3 separate regions of the Homo sapiens genome follow, and regions 1 and 3 are each linked to region 2. Evidence: promoter capture Hi-C in 16 types of primary human blood cells and fetal thymus (Javierre and others, 2016). All regions are on one chromosome and are shown on one strand. Each heading gives the region's core, a stretch centred on a gene start or on the middle of the fragment in contact. The rest is flanking DNA. Distances are from core to core; before and after follow the strand shown. Region 1 overlaps PJA2 (praja ring finger ubiquitin ligase 2). Region 2 holds the start of SLC25A46 (solute carrier family 25 member 46). Region 3 holds the start of FER (FER tyrosine kinase).

Evidence for each region. The method cuts DNA at HindIII sites, captures the fragments that hold promoters and counts their contacts. A CHiCAGO score of 5 or more calls a contact.
Region 1: a contact is called between a fragment that was not itself captured here and the fragment with the promoter of SLC25A46 in region 2, in 1 of 17 cell types (fetal thymus). The highest score is 5.4, in fetal thymus.
Region 3: the fragment with the promoter of FER here is called in contact with the fragment with the promoter of SLC25A46 in region 2 in 7 of 17 cell types (total CD4 T cells, fetal thymus, activated CD4 T cells and 4 more); the score reaches 9.7 in total CD4 T cells.

The regions. Positions count from the first base shown.
Region 1 is chr5:109,403,896-109,408,327 of GRCh38, reverse strand. All of the region lies in intron 1 of PJA2 (praja ring finger ubiquitin ligase 2), which reads left to right. Among named protein-coding and RNA genes, the nearest start is that of PJA2, 3.9 kb to the left of the region's middle. The HindIII fragment of the contact is 565 bases long and covers 2,900-3,464 here.
Region 2 is chr5:110,737,080-110,741,008 of GRCh38, reverse strand. It overlaps SLC25A46 (solute carrier family 25 member 46), which reads right to left and starts at 2,002. Exons shown (of 8, transcript NM_138773.4): 1 at 1,607-2,002. The coding sequence starts at 1,889. It also overlaps a transcript of TMEM232 not described here. RefSeq lists enhancers at 1-163, 164-665, 1,910-1,979, 1,990-2,119, 2,370-2,419. The HindIII fragment of the contact is 3,989 bases long and covers 2-3,929 here.
Region 3 is chr5:108,746,305-108,750,325 of GRCh38, reverse strand. It overlaps FER (FER tyrosine kinase), which reads right to left and starts at 2,429. Exons shown (of 20, transcript NM_005246.4): 1 at 2,326-2,429. RefSeq lists silencers at 883-1,292, 1,423-1,482, 1,563-1,662. The HindIII fragment of the contact is 11,506 bases long and covers 1-4,021 here.

The sequences.
Region 1 (4,432 bases), core at 1,933-4,432, 1.3 Mb after region 2:
TGATGATTTATAATGAAAATAACTTTCTAATTTATTGATCGATGTTTAATTACAAATTTTAATTCATCCTTGATTTTAAAAAATTAAACAGTATGGAAGAATGTAAGGTAAAAATTACCGCTTCCACTTCTAGTCCTGCTTGCATCTTGATTGTCAGCCACTGTTAACAATTCAGTAAACTTCCTCTATGTGTGATTATTTCTGGAGCATGGGTTCCTAGAAGTGAAGTTGCTCAGTTAAAAGATTATGCATATTTTAAATTTTGGTAACCCTTTCTCCCTCTTTATTACTCTTGTTGAAAATATTCTTGAATGTTTCTTATGCATTTCTTCTTCTAGGTAAACTTTAGACTGAACTAAAAATCCTTAGCTATTTTGAATAAGGTTATATTGAAATTTTAGATTAATTTGGAGACAACTGATCTTTATAGTATTGAGTCTCTCTCCTCAGAAATGTGGCCTCTCCATTTTATTCACATCTTGTTTTATACTGTTAGGGAAATTTTTATAGTTTTTCTTTTTTTTCTTCATACGTATAACATTCCTTCCTGGTATTCCTATTTTATGGTTTGATTCGTGTGGTGGATGGAAACTTTCAGTAACATTTCTCTCTCTCTGTTTTCTCTGGTTATAGCAAAACTTTTGAGTTTTCTATCATGTATCAGATTATTTTATTGAGTTGATTATCAGGAGATATTCACAGTTTTGTGGTTTCCTTTTCAGTTTTTATAACTTATGTGTTTTTCTCATTGCTTTTGCAATTATACATCTTATAAAATGTTGAGCACTGGTAGATTAAAAACTAATAGCACTGATAGCTAACAACAAACATGGCATTGTTTCTGACTTTAAGGGGGAATGCTTCTAATGTTTTAGCATTAATTATGATGTTTGGTGAAGCTTTCTGGTAAAGCCGCTGATATTAAAATATTTCCTTCTAGTCTTGGCTTTCCAAGATGCTTATGTTGTTGTTTTTGACATTTTTAAAAACCATAAATGAGTTTTCTTATATATATTTTTTTGACATCTTTTGAGGTGGGTATATGTGGGCATCACCAGTATTCCCTGGTTTATATTTTCCTGAGAGAGCACCCTCTTAGAAAATCAACCTTATTGAGGATAACTTAGATACAGTAAAATGTACTTATTTGAAATGTACAGTGTATTTTGTTTTGACAAATATGTGCTCTGTGACCACCACCACAGTCAAGAGTGGAATATTTTCATACCACAATTAAGATATAGAATATTTTCATCTCCCCCAAAGTTCCCTTTTGCAGTCAATCACAATTTCACCCTCAGGACTAGGAAAGCACTTATCATCTTTTTCTTGCTATAAATTGGTATCATTTTGTCTAGAATTTCATGTAAGTGGAATGATGTAATACATACTCTTTTGTATCTGGCTTTTTCTCTTGGCATGTTTTTCAGGATTATCCATGTTTTTCTGTATTTAACGGGTTCTCATTTTATTGCTGAATAGAAGTCCTTGGTATTGATTTACTAGTTTGTTGACCATTCCACCTATTTACAGATACTTGGATTGTTTCCAGTTTGGGGCTGTTATTAATAAATAGCCTTCATTTGTTGAACATTCCTTTATTCAATGAACATTCATTTATTTTGAATTTTTGTGAACATCTTTTTTTTCTTGGTAAATACCTAGACATGGAACTTGTTGGGTTGTATGATACATGGATGTTTATAAGAAACTGCCAAACTGTTTTCCAGAGTGGTTGTCACATTTTACATATCCATCAGCAGTGTATGACAGTTCCAATTGCTCCACATCATCCTCAGCACTTGGTTATTTCAGTCTTTTAAATTTTAGCCCTTTTAGTGGGTATATAGTAGTATCATACTGGGATTTTGATTTGCATTTACCAGATGACTAATGGTGCTGAGAATTTGCTCTAGTGTATGTCTTCCTTTGTGAAGTATCTGTTGACATTTTTTGCTCATTAAAAAACAAACAAACAACAATGGGTGGGCCTGGCGCGGTGGCTCACGCCTGTAATCCCAGCACTTTGGGAGTCCGAGGCAGGCGGATCACGAGGTCAGGAGATCCAGACCATCCTGGCTAACACGGTGAAGCCCCATCTCTACTAAAAATACAAAAAATTAGCCGGGCGTGGTGGCGGATACCTGTAGTGCCAGCTACTCCGGCTGAGTTAGGATAATGGCGTGAACCCGGGAGGTGGAGCTCGCAGTGAGCCAAGATCGTGCCACTGCACTCCAGCCTGGGCGACAGAGCGAGACTCCGTCTCAAAAAAAAAAAAAAAAAAAAATGGGTTTGTCTTATTGAGTTGTAAGCATTTTTTAATACATTCTTTATACAACTCATTTGACACACAGAGATACATAAACACACACACACACTGCAATCTGAAGCTTGTTTTTTTTTTATTTTCCTAACTTTAAAAGAAGAGCTTTTAATTTTGATAAATTCATCTTACCAACTTTTTCTTATGATTTGTGCTTCTGTGTTCTAAGAACTCTTTGCTTAATGCAAAGTTGTGCAGATTTACTCTTAGGATTTTTCTATAAGTTTTCTAGTTTTGGCTTTCATGTCAAGGCACATTATCCATTTTGGGTTAGTTTTTGTATATGGTGTGTAGTAAGGGTCAAGGCTCATTTTCTTTTCAAATGTATATGTAGTTCTAGCACCATTTGTTGGGACTACTTTCCTTTCCCCATTGAATTAACTTTGTCAAAAGTCAGTTGATCATATATGTAAATCTGTTCCTGTACTTTTCTCTTGATCTTTATGCCTATAATTTTGCCAGTACTGAGTTATCATGGTTATTTTTACTTATAAGTATTGAAATTAGGTAATATGAATCCTTGAACTTTATTCTTTTTCAAAATTGCCTTGGCTATTCTAACTTTACCGTAAAGCTTTTAGAGGCTGCGTGTTGGTTTCTACAAAAAGACCTGAAGGGATTTTAATTTGGTTTGTGTCGAATGCATAGATCAATTTAGGAAGAATCGACATCTTGAGTCTTCCAATTCATGAATACAGGTTGTCTCCATTTATGTAGGTCTTCTTTCATTTCCTTTGTCAGCATTTTGTAGTTGCAGCATGAAGATGTTGCTCATTTTGTTGGATTTATATCTAAGTATTTAATAATTGATACCATTATAAGTGATAATTTTCTTAAATTTTAGTTTCCAGTTATTCACTGCTATATGTAAAAATACAGTTGGTTTTTGCATATGGACCTTGATGCTTGCAACCTTGCTAAATTCATTCATTTGAGTAAATTTTTTGTAGATTCTCTGGAATTGTCCTATGTAGACAATCATGTTATTTGCAAATATAGATCAGTTTTATTATTTTTGAATTTATATGTAACTCCTTCCACCTTTTCTTCTTCTTAGACTGGCTAAGACCTCCATTATGATGTTGAATAGCAGTGGTGAAAGCAGATATCCTTCTCTGTTCCTGATCTTAAGAAGAAAGCTTTGAATCTTTCATTATTGAGTGTGATAGAGTGGTGCTATAGCTTGAATGCTTATGTCCCTTCCAAAATTCATAGCATTGAAACATAATCCCCATTGTGAGGGGGATCTCAAGGAGGTGATTAGGTCATGAAGCTTCTGCCTTCATTAATGGATTCGTGTGCTTATAAAAGAGGTCCCAGAGAGCTCCTATCCCCTTATGCCGTATGAGAACACAGTGAAAAAACTGCAGTCTGTGAACCAGGAAGTGGCTCTCACCAAACGCTGAATCTACCAGCACCTTGATTTTGGACTTCCCAGCCTCCAGAACTGTGAAAAATAAATTTCTTTTATTTTTATTTCTATTTTTTTTTGACAGAGTCTTGCTCTGTCGGCTAGGCTGGAGTGCAGTGGCAGTCTCAGCTCGCTGCAACCTCGGTCTCCCAGGCTCAAGCAATTCTGCCTCAGCCTCCCGAGTAGCTGGGATTACAGGCGTATGTCACCATGCCTGGCTAATTTTTGTATTTTTAGTAGAGACGGGGTTTTACCATGTTGGCCAGGCTGGTCTCAAACTCCTTACCTCAGGTAATCCACCTGCCTTGGCCTCCCAAAGTGCTGGAATTACAGGTGTGAGCCACCGCGCCCAGCCGAGAAATAAATTTCTGTTGTTTATAAGCCACTTCAGTCTATGGGAGCTTGTTATAGGAGTCCTAATGGACTAAGACAAGTGGCCTTTTATCATATTGAGGATGTTCCCATTCTATTCTTGGATTGCTGAGAGGTTTTTGTTGTTGTTGTTGTTGTTGTTGTTGTTTTTGAGATGGAGTCTTGCTCTGTTGCCCAGGCTGGAGGGCAGTGGCACCATCTCAGCTCACTACAGCCTCCGCCTCCTGGGTTCAAGTGATTCTTCTGCCTCAGCCCCCTGAGTAGCTGGGATTACAGGTACACGCCACCAAGCCTGGCTAACTTTTTTGTATTTTTGTAGAAATGGG
Region 2 (3,929 bases), core at 753-3,252:
TTCTTTTACCCACCTACGGTACTTTTACCTTAGATTTTACCTTTTTTTGTTTGTTTTGAGACGGAGTCTCGCTCTGTCGCCCAGGCTGGAGTGCAGTGACGCGATCTCGGCTCACTGCAAGCTCCGCCTCCCGGGTTCACGCCATTCTCCTGCCTCAGCCTCCCGAGTAGCTGGGACTACAGGCATCCGCCACCACGCCCGGCTAATTTTTTCTATTTTTTAGTGGAGACGGGGTTTCATCGTGTTAGCCAGGATGGTCTCGATCTCCTGACCTCGTGATCCGCCCGCCTTGGCCTCCCAAAGTGCTAGGATTACAGGCGTGAGCCACCACGCCCGGCCTTACCCATTTTGTATGTATAGATCATCCCCAAATAGCAACAGAAAATGCTACTAGCATTTTCTGGAAGGTGTTAGGAAGGTTTAATCTTGTTTACTGTGTAAGTCTCTTAGGTGTCTATCTTTGTTGCAAAATTAACATTCACCCACCTGTTAAGGCTGCAAAATAAACCCCTGCTTGTGTCAAGGAACTCCTCCTCATTGTAACCACCAAAGCATAACTTTAAACCGGGAAGAGTCAAAAAGCTAATTGTATGACAATTAGCTAGGTAAGTCATCTATCTTTCTTCACATCCTCATTTACTCACTAGACATTCGTTAGTCTGTTCTTCTTAGTTAAATATTATTGTACTTCCAAGTCAAAGTCGAGGAAATAAGAATAAAGCTGATTTCTACAATAAATTTAATATTAATACCATTAATCTATTATTCTAACAATTCCAGAAGAATAGAAAGAGGTAGCCATTATTCACATTTTATGAATAAAAAAGGATGTTGAAAATATCTACATCATGCAGTGTTGCAGCTTTTCTGACATCCCATGGAGAATAATTATGTCATGATTCCGAAGTCCTATCTTGAAATTGTATCAGTGTTTCTAACTTTTATATGTAGTTTTTAGGTCAGCAGAAGGAAAGCAGAAAGGAAAATTATAGGAAGGAAACTTTCTAGACTGGGGATCTGAAAAGCAGACAAAACTCCTGTGTTCAAAAAGGAAAAGGAAGGAAACTTTTTTTTTTTAGCCTATGTGTCCCATACAGGATTCTTCTACACATCTTAAAGATGAGAAAACTGAGGGCTCACAGAGGTTAAGTTGTTCAGATTACGAGTGGCACAACCAAGTTTGAACCCAAGTATGCTTATGCTGAAAGGCTTCTCTTTTCAGAACACAAAACTACAAGTAAACACATTAATTAATTAATTAAATCAAGAAAATAGAGCTGCCAAAGTGAATCAGGGAACAGTTAATAATCCAATCTCCTTTTTAACTCAGACCATCAGTTGAGACACCAAAACCTCTAAAAATTCCTGCTATGCACCCCATAGCTAAGGCAGATGTCTTTTTTGGAGTTGATCCAGGAGAATTCGTTTGTGAGGAAGAGGAGGCCAGCCTCAGGGGCAGAGGACCAAAGGAGGGCAAAGGGTGTGGCGCGCGATAGGATGAGAAGGAATAGGAGGCGGGATCCTCTGCGCCGCTTCCGGGGTCTGCAGGCCGCAAGCCGCGGCCCCAGTAACCCCTCATCCCTGTGTCGGTCCCCATGCTTCTCACCACTGCTCTGCCCCTGCACACTGCCGCCGCCGCCACTGGAAAAGGGTTCCTCCGTGGGGCCTTCGTACGGGGTGGAGGTGGTGGGCACGCCGTAGGGCGGGCTCTTCTCGCCCCAGTGCAGGTTGCGGCTGCCGGGGATATCTGGGGGAGTCGTCACCCAGTGGCCCAGGTCCGACCCGGTGCTGAAGGACCTTGCAGGGAAGGCGCCGCCAAAGCCCTGCTCGTCCCGGGCACCACCCCGGTAGCCCAAGCCATCAAATCCGTCCGGGCGCCGCGGATGCATCGCAGCGGGGGCAGGATGACGCGAGCCCGCCCGGAGCCCACCACCACCGGGGCCACCACGACCTAAGCACACACAGCTTCCCGTCGGCCGCCGCCGCGTCAGGGGTAAATTCTGACAACCGGAAGTCACGTTGGAAACCCGGAAGTCTTCGGAGCACGTGATTATAGCCTCTTCCGGCAACCATTAAAGGGCACGGTTGCTAGGGAGACGCGGCGGTAACCTGGACCTTAAAAGTTTGTTGTCGTTAGGGAATAGGTGGGAATATGGTTGTGGGATTAATGAAACACAGTACCAAAGAGATTCCAGAAAGAGAACTGGTGTAGGAATAGGGCCTGCATGGGAGGAGTTCAAAGATGCTTCTTGGAGGGAGCCGATAACCCGCGGGTGGAGCCTACCCGGTGAGATCCCGGCCAGAAATACCCCATGTCACAGCTACGCCCCAGATCTCAGTGTTTTCTCACGGGCCTGGTGCCTCGCCTGCTCCGAGGAAGCTAGTAGAGGTTGGAGTTGTGGAGGGTTAATAACGTTCCACCTAGCTTTGTCTCCCGCACTTGGGGTTTTGGATCAAATCTATTGAGAGATATGGTACCGCCCAGTGAACGCGAAAGTACTGTGGACCACCAGAGCAAGCATTTTAAAAGTTGAAGTGCACGTCGGGGGTGAAAGAAACCCACGTACTCGAATACTGTCCTCCTGGAGTTAGAAATTACGCGTTTTCCTTTTCTAAGGCTGTAAAGAAACTATAGTTTTCTGTCGTATTTTTTTCTGATGTGTCTAAATCACTCAGGGTATTGAAATCCCAGTTATATCGTTCAAAATTGGGACCTCTAATTGAATAACTGAGAGGACTACTGTAGAGCGTCCCCTACTACCTGTTTTCATTAGCTCCACGGGCTCTTGGGCCAGGCTCCCTCCCCAGATCTGAGGAAGACTTCCATGGTTTCATCCTATGTTCCTTCAACTCGTTGGAAGCCCAGGATTCCTAGAGCTTTTCCAAGAGAACTCTGACGTGCAGTTCTCGATCTTCCAGATGCGAACCTTGATTGAGAGTGATAATCAACTTTGTTTTGATTGAACTGACATTTTTTTCTGTGGTTTTATCACTTTTTATTTTTTATGGGTGTATAGTAGGTGTATATATTTATGGGTTACATGAGATATTTTGATAGCGTACATTAAAATGTATAATTAACATTTTTAAATAACGAATTGACATTCTTAAATTTGATTGCGATGCAGCTTGGGCAAAGGTGTTGAGTCTCTTGACTGTATAAAATTTAAATGTCCATATAGTAAATTTTAAAATATATAGTAATCACAATTGAAAGGCAAATCACAAACAGAAAAATGACATTTTAACATGGTTTAAACAATGGAACAGTAGCTTTAATGTACAAAGAGTTCATACCAATGAATAAAGGCAAATCAGAAATATGAGCAAAGGACATGTAGAGGCAATTCATACAAAAAAAGGAAGTGTAAATAGATAATATCATATAAAAAGTCCTTTACTAATTGAAAAAAGGTAAATCTTAATTATCTTTCACGTATTAAGGTGTTTAAAAGGGAAAATGCACATTGTCTTTCCAGGTGAGAAGAAAGTAGCTTTCATTAATTTCTGAAGTGATATAAAACATAACTTTCTGATGGAGAGCAGTTTGGCACTATGTATCAAAAACTGTAAAAATAACCATATTTTTTGACTCCAAAATCTTAGAAAACAAATATAGGGGTTTTTTACATGTTTCTGGCATGGATAACATACATATGTTTATGGCATGCTTGCTCATAATAGGAAAAAAATAAGCAGGAATGCAAATATCAAATAATTATTATTGATTAATAATTTATTATTTAAAGTGTATATCCATACAGTTGTTTAACAAAAATATATTTATTAAGCACCTATCTCGTGTCAGATACTATTTTAAGCAATAAGGATAGAATGATAAATAAGCCAGACAAGGTGCTTGCATTGTTAGAACTGACATTCTAGTTTAGGGAGACAAAGAACAGATAAATATATCCTGTCAAATATAG
Region 3 (4,021 bases), core at 1,180-3,679, 2.0 Mb after region 2:
ATATATACCAGGACTACAAATACTGCACTAAAGATTTTGCAATAGTTTTTTTTTTTTATCCTATTCTCATTCCACATATGAATTGAAAAGTATTTTCTAATCTTTAATCACTAAAATAGTTTTGATCTATTCTCTTATTGATGTTCCACTACACTTTTATATATGGTAACCTCATCTGAGAAATTTATTATCTTAACATATCTGGAGAAAAGGAAAATGGAGTACACCTTTACAGCAGTTTATGTCAAAGTGATAGTGAGACAACCATTAATATACGCAACTTCTGAATTAAAAAGGTTAAAAAGCTGCTCTTTTTTTAACCATAAGGCGAAGGAAAAAAATGTAAGGCTACCAGCCGTAACAAATTATTAGATTTTGAATTGCACTACAGTGGATGGCAAAATCGCAAACGTACAAAGTGCCCACCTCATAGTACAATCCTCAATTTGTTTAAGAAGTACCTTGCCCCTACCAACACAACCCAATGAGCGTATTCAGAAAGTAGATCCTAGGGGTAACTGTAAGGCAGAAGGATGACCCCTGAAGGTGCCTCCAAACATCTCCCCAATTCTAACTGGCAAAGAGACCACAGAGCAGAAATTACCGACGACACCACTAGCTTCACACTTAAGATCTATCTCTTGATTAGACTCTTGGAGGACACCTCTGGCCAAGACCGGAGGAGAAAGATGAGGTGGGGGATAAAAGCGGGAGAAGGTGACAGATAGGAGGAGAGCTGGGGAGGACCGAGCGGGTCAAGGGAGACTGCGGGGCTCCAGAAGCAGGAAGGGATGGGGGGAATACCAGGGGTTGAGAATGCCCCCGTAGCGGGACGGCGGCGCCCAGATGAGTGCCGCCGAGAAAAGGGGTGAGGGTACAGGCAAGATTGGGTGGTGCCCACAGTCCCCCCACCACCCCGCCTCACGCCCATCAGCCCCCAGACCCCGCGACGGGGCGGAGCCACTACGCCCGCCACAGCCCTTTCGCGCCGGCACCCGCCCCCTCAGCCTTCGGGTCCCGGGATGGTGGGAGGGGCGGCCCTCGTGGGGCTGGGTGTGTAGCCCGGCCCAAGCCCCAACCAGGAATGCTCTGCTGCGGGCGGGAGGATGAGCGGATGACCCTGCAGCCAGGGACGGGGGTTGGGGGGGGCGCTGGCTGAGGGCGGAGGAAGAGCCTCGGCACAGCCCCCAACGCCCTGGCCGAATCCCGGGCGCCCCTCTGCGGGCAGGCATTGTTGCCCCCGCTCTAGGCTTGCCTTCCCTCCTCTTCCCCCCTCCCCCCGCGTTGCCCCGGGCAACAGCGCCTACCGCCGGCGGCGCGAAACGCACCTACCTAGAACCTGACAAGCCCGAACCCCTCAGACTCCGGAGCCAGTCACCACCCCGCGTCACGGGGGCTGCCACAGCCAATAGGCGCCACTGTCACGAACCTCTGCAACCAATCCCGCTGCACTCCGGTCTCCGGGCACCCTCGAGGCCTCAGCCAATGGGCAAGAGCGGAAGGCGGGCGCAGCCGCCCGGCCCTCAGCCCCCTCCTCCACTACCTCCCAGGAGGCGGGGAGCGGCCGATTGGCCCGGTCCCCGAAGGGGCAGGACTTGGGCCCTAGGCTGGGTGGGCGCACGCTTAGCCCAAGCTGCGGGCCCTGGGAGTGGAGACGCGGAGCTGCGGTCGCCGCTTTCTGGGCTCGCTCACCAGCCCGGGTGGAGTCCCGAGGTCTGCGCGTTTGTGCCGCTCTCCCCGCCTCGGTAACCTGCTCCTCCCTAGCGGGTGTCCTGGGCTGCCGTGGTGAGATGGGGCCGGAGACGGACGAAGGCCTCACAGGAAACTTTGGGAGGCTCGCCTGGCCGCGGCCGGGAAGTGGCCGGACCGGCGATGATAAGCTGAGGCCGCCTGGAAGGGACTACTCGGCGGGTCGGCAGCCGGAAAGGAATTCGGAGAGTGGGGGCGGAGGCGTGATTAAAATGTTAAGTGTGCCCGGAGGGCGCTGGGCGATCCCTGGAGCTGAAATCTCCGGGAAGGGAAGCTGCTTTAGGGCCGCGAGGCCCCCACCCCTAAAATAGGCACTTTTCAGCCTCAGAATTGGTCACTTTTTCCTGTACGTTCCCACGTTTTACTTGTATCTGTTATTAACGTGGATTGCTTTAGAATGGTTTTCAGCAACTCCAGTTTACTCTGAGTCCCTTAAGGACGGGAACTGTCTTTCAATCCTGTACTCCCAGTGCCTGAGCCTGCCTAAAAATGTTAGAAACTCAATGCTGGAATTGTAATGGATGTTTAAAAGCATACAGCAGGTCCTGGGAGTGGCCCCCTATAATAAATTCTTACCTCTTCGGGAGTCTAGAATGCGTGGAGAACCCAAACGGGTCTGCTCTTCAGTGATGGCCGTTTCTGAAGCGTCCTTCACCAAAAGAATTTGGTGAAAAATGAGTAATGTGAACTACAAGATTATTACTAGGTGATCAGTAACAGTAGGATAGGTATGCGTCATTATTCGAGGGTGTGACCCTCCCATGTTCCTGTAGTAGACTTTTTAAGGCGGTGTTATCTTTTGCATTGGTTGAACCACATAGCGTCAATCCGGTATTTCCCCTCCCTCTCAAAAACTGAGTTACATAGGAGCCAAAGAAGAGTGGTGAATATTTTCTCTAAGCAGGGTTATTTATTTAACCGTAGAGAACAGCCCTACACATAAAAAAACATAAATCTTAAGTTGGACTTTTTTTAAGTCTACTGTTTTAAAGCTAAATAAACAAAAACCAACATAAAAATTTTAAATAAGAGGCTTAATTCTCCCTATTGAAAATGGAGGATGAGATTTCCCGTCCCTTTCTCTCCGAGCATTTGTCTTAGAAAACTTAAGTACTTTCTTAATTGTTAAGTACTTTCTCAACTCTTTGAAATGTGTATAAATCCACTTGAGGACTAGATAGGTCTTGTCAACTGTATGCTCAGTCAGGAATGTCTCTGGACCTTTTTTTTTTTTTTTTTTTTGAAATGCTGCACATATCAACGGAGTAGCATCCTTCCCTATCTCCCAGTTTCTGTGAGAGAGTAGGAGCGTAACTTCGGTGAGCAACTTGCTCCGTGTTGCAAAACTACCTTCCGTCATAAAGACAGGAGAAGTTTGTTTTTCCTCTGGATAAAACCAATTAACTAACACAGATGGTCACCCCAATTATTAAGTAAAGTTAATGTCACAAATGTCAGGTCCTCTTACTTGAGGACTAGTTATTGTTCAACTTGAAAACGTGTATGTAATGGGTCGTATATACTTGGCTATACAAAAGGGCAAGATTTCTGTCTTTGCAATCTCTTAGCAAATTGCCTGTGATGTGTATCACAGTCTCGTTTAATGCTTATTCAGTAATAAAAGTGTTTTGTCTACTAACGTTTGTGGAGAGGATTTCTGGGTTGGGAGATTTTGGTTTTTAATTATATTTTTCCAACAATGCCTATACCCAGAATGTTGGGATGACAAAGTTAAGGAAAGTAGTTACTTCGGAGTTTTTAAATTGTTCTCTAAAATGATGGTTAATGTTTCATATGTATTTCATAGTGATTGTTAAATGCACAAACTGTGGTTCTGTGAGTAAACTTCTTAAAATAGAAGTTAATTTTCTGTGAACATCAAATGTTATAGTATATGTAATGTCAATAAGAATGAAATGAATGAAAATTTGGTTAGGTAAGGCCAAAATACAACTTTGGAGACTGCTTCATGACTGAATACCTTTCCCAAGAACCTTAGAATTTCTCCATTTATACAAAGGGAATCAAAATGTAGAAAGATGTGGTTGGTGAATACGTTATTACATATTTGCAGAAAGTAGCTTTCAATAAAGATATGGTAGAAATAGAGCTGTTTGATACACAACATGTGTGTTTGTGTTAAGGAACCCAAATCTAGAAAAATCAGCAAGAATCTTTCCATATCTACAATTGTTCTCTGAGTTCTCACCTATTCATTCCAAAACCTTAAAAGCTGTCTACCATATGCCAGTCATTGTGCTAGGAAATGCAG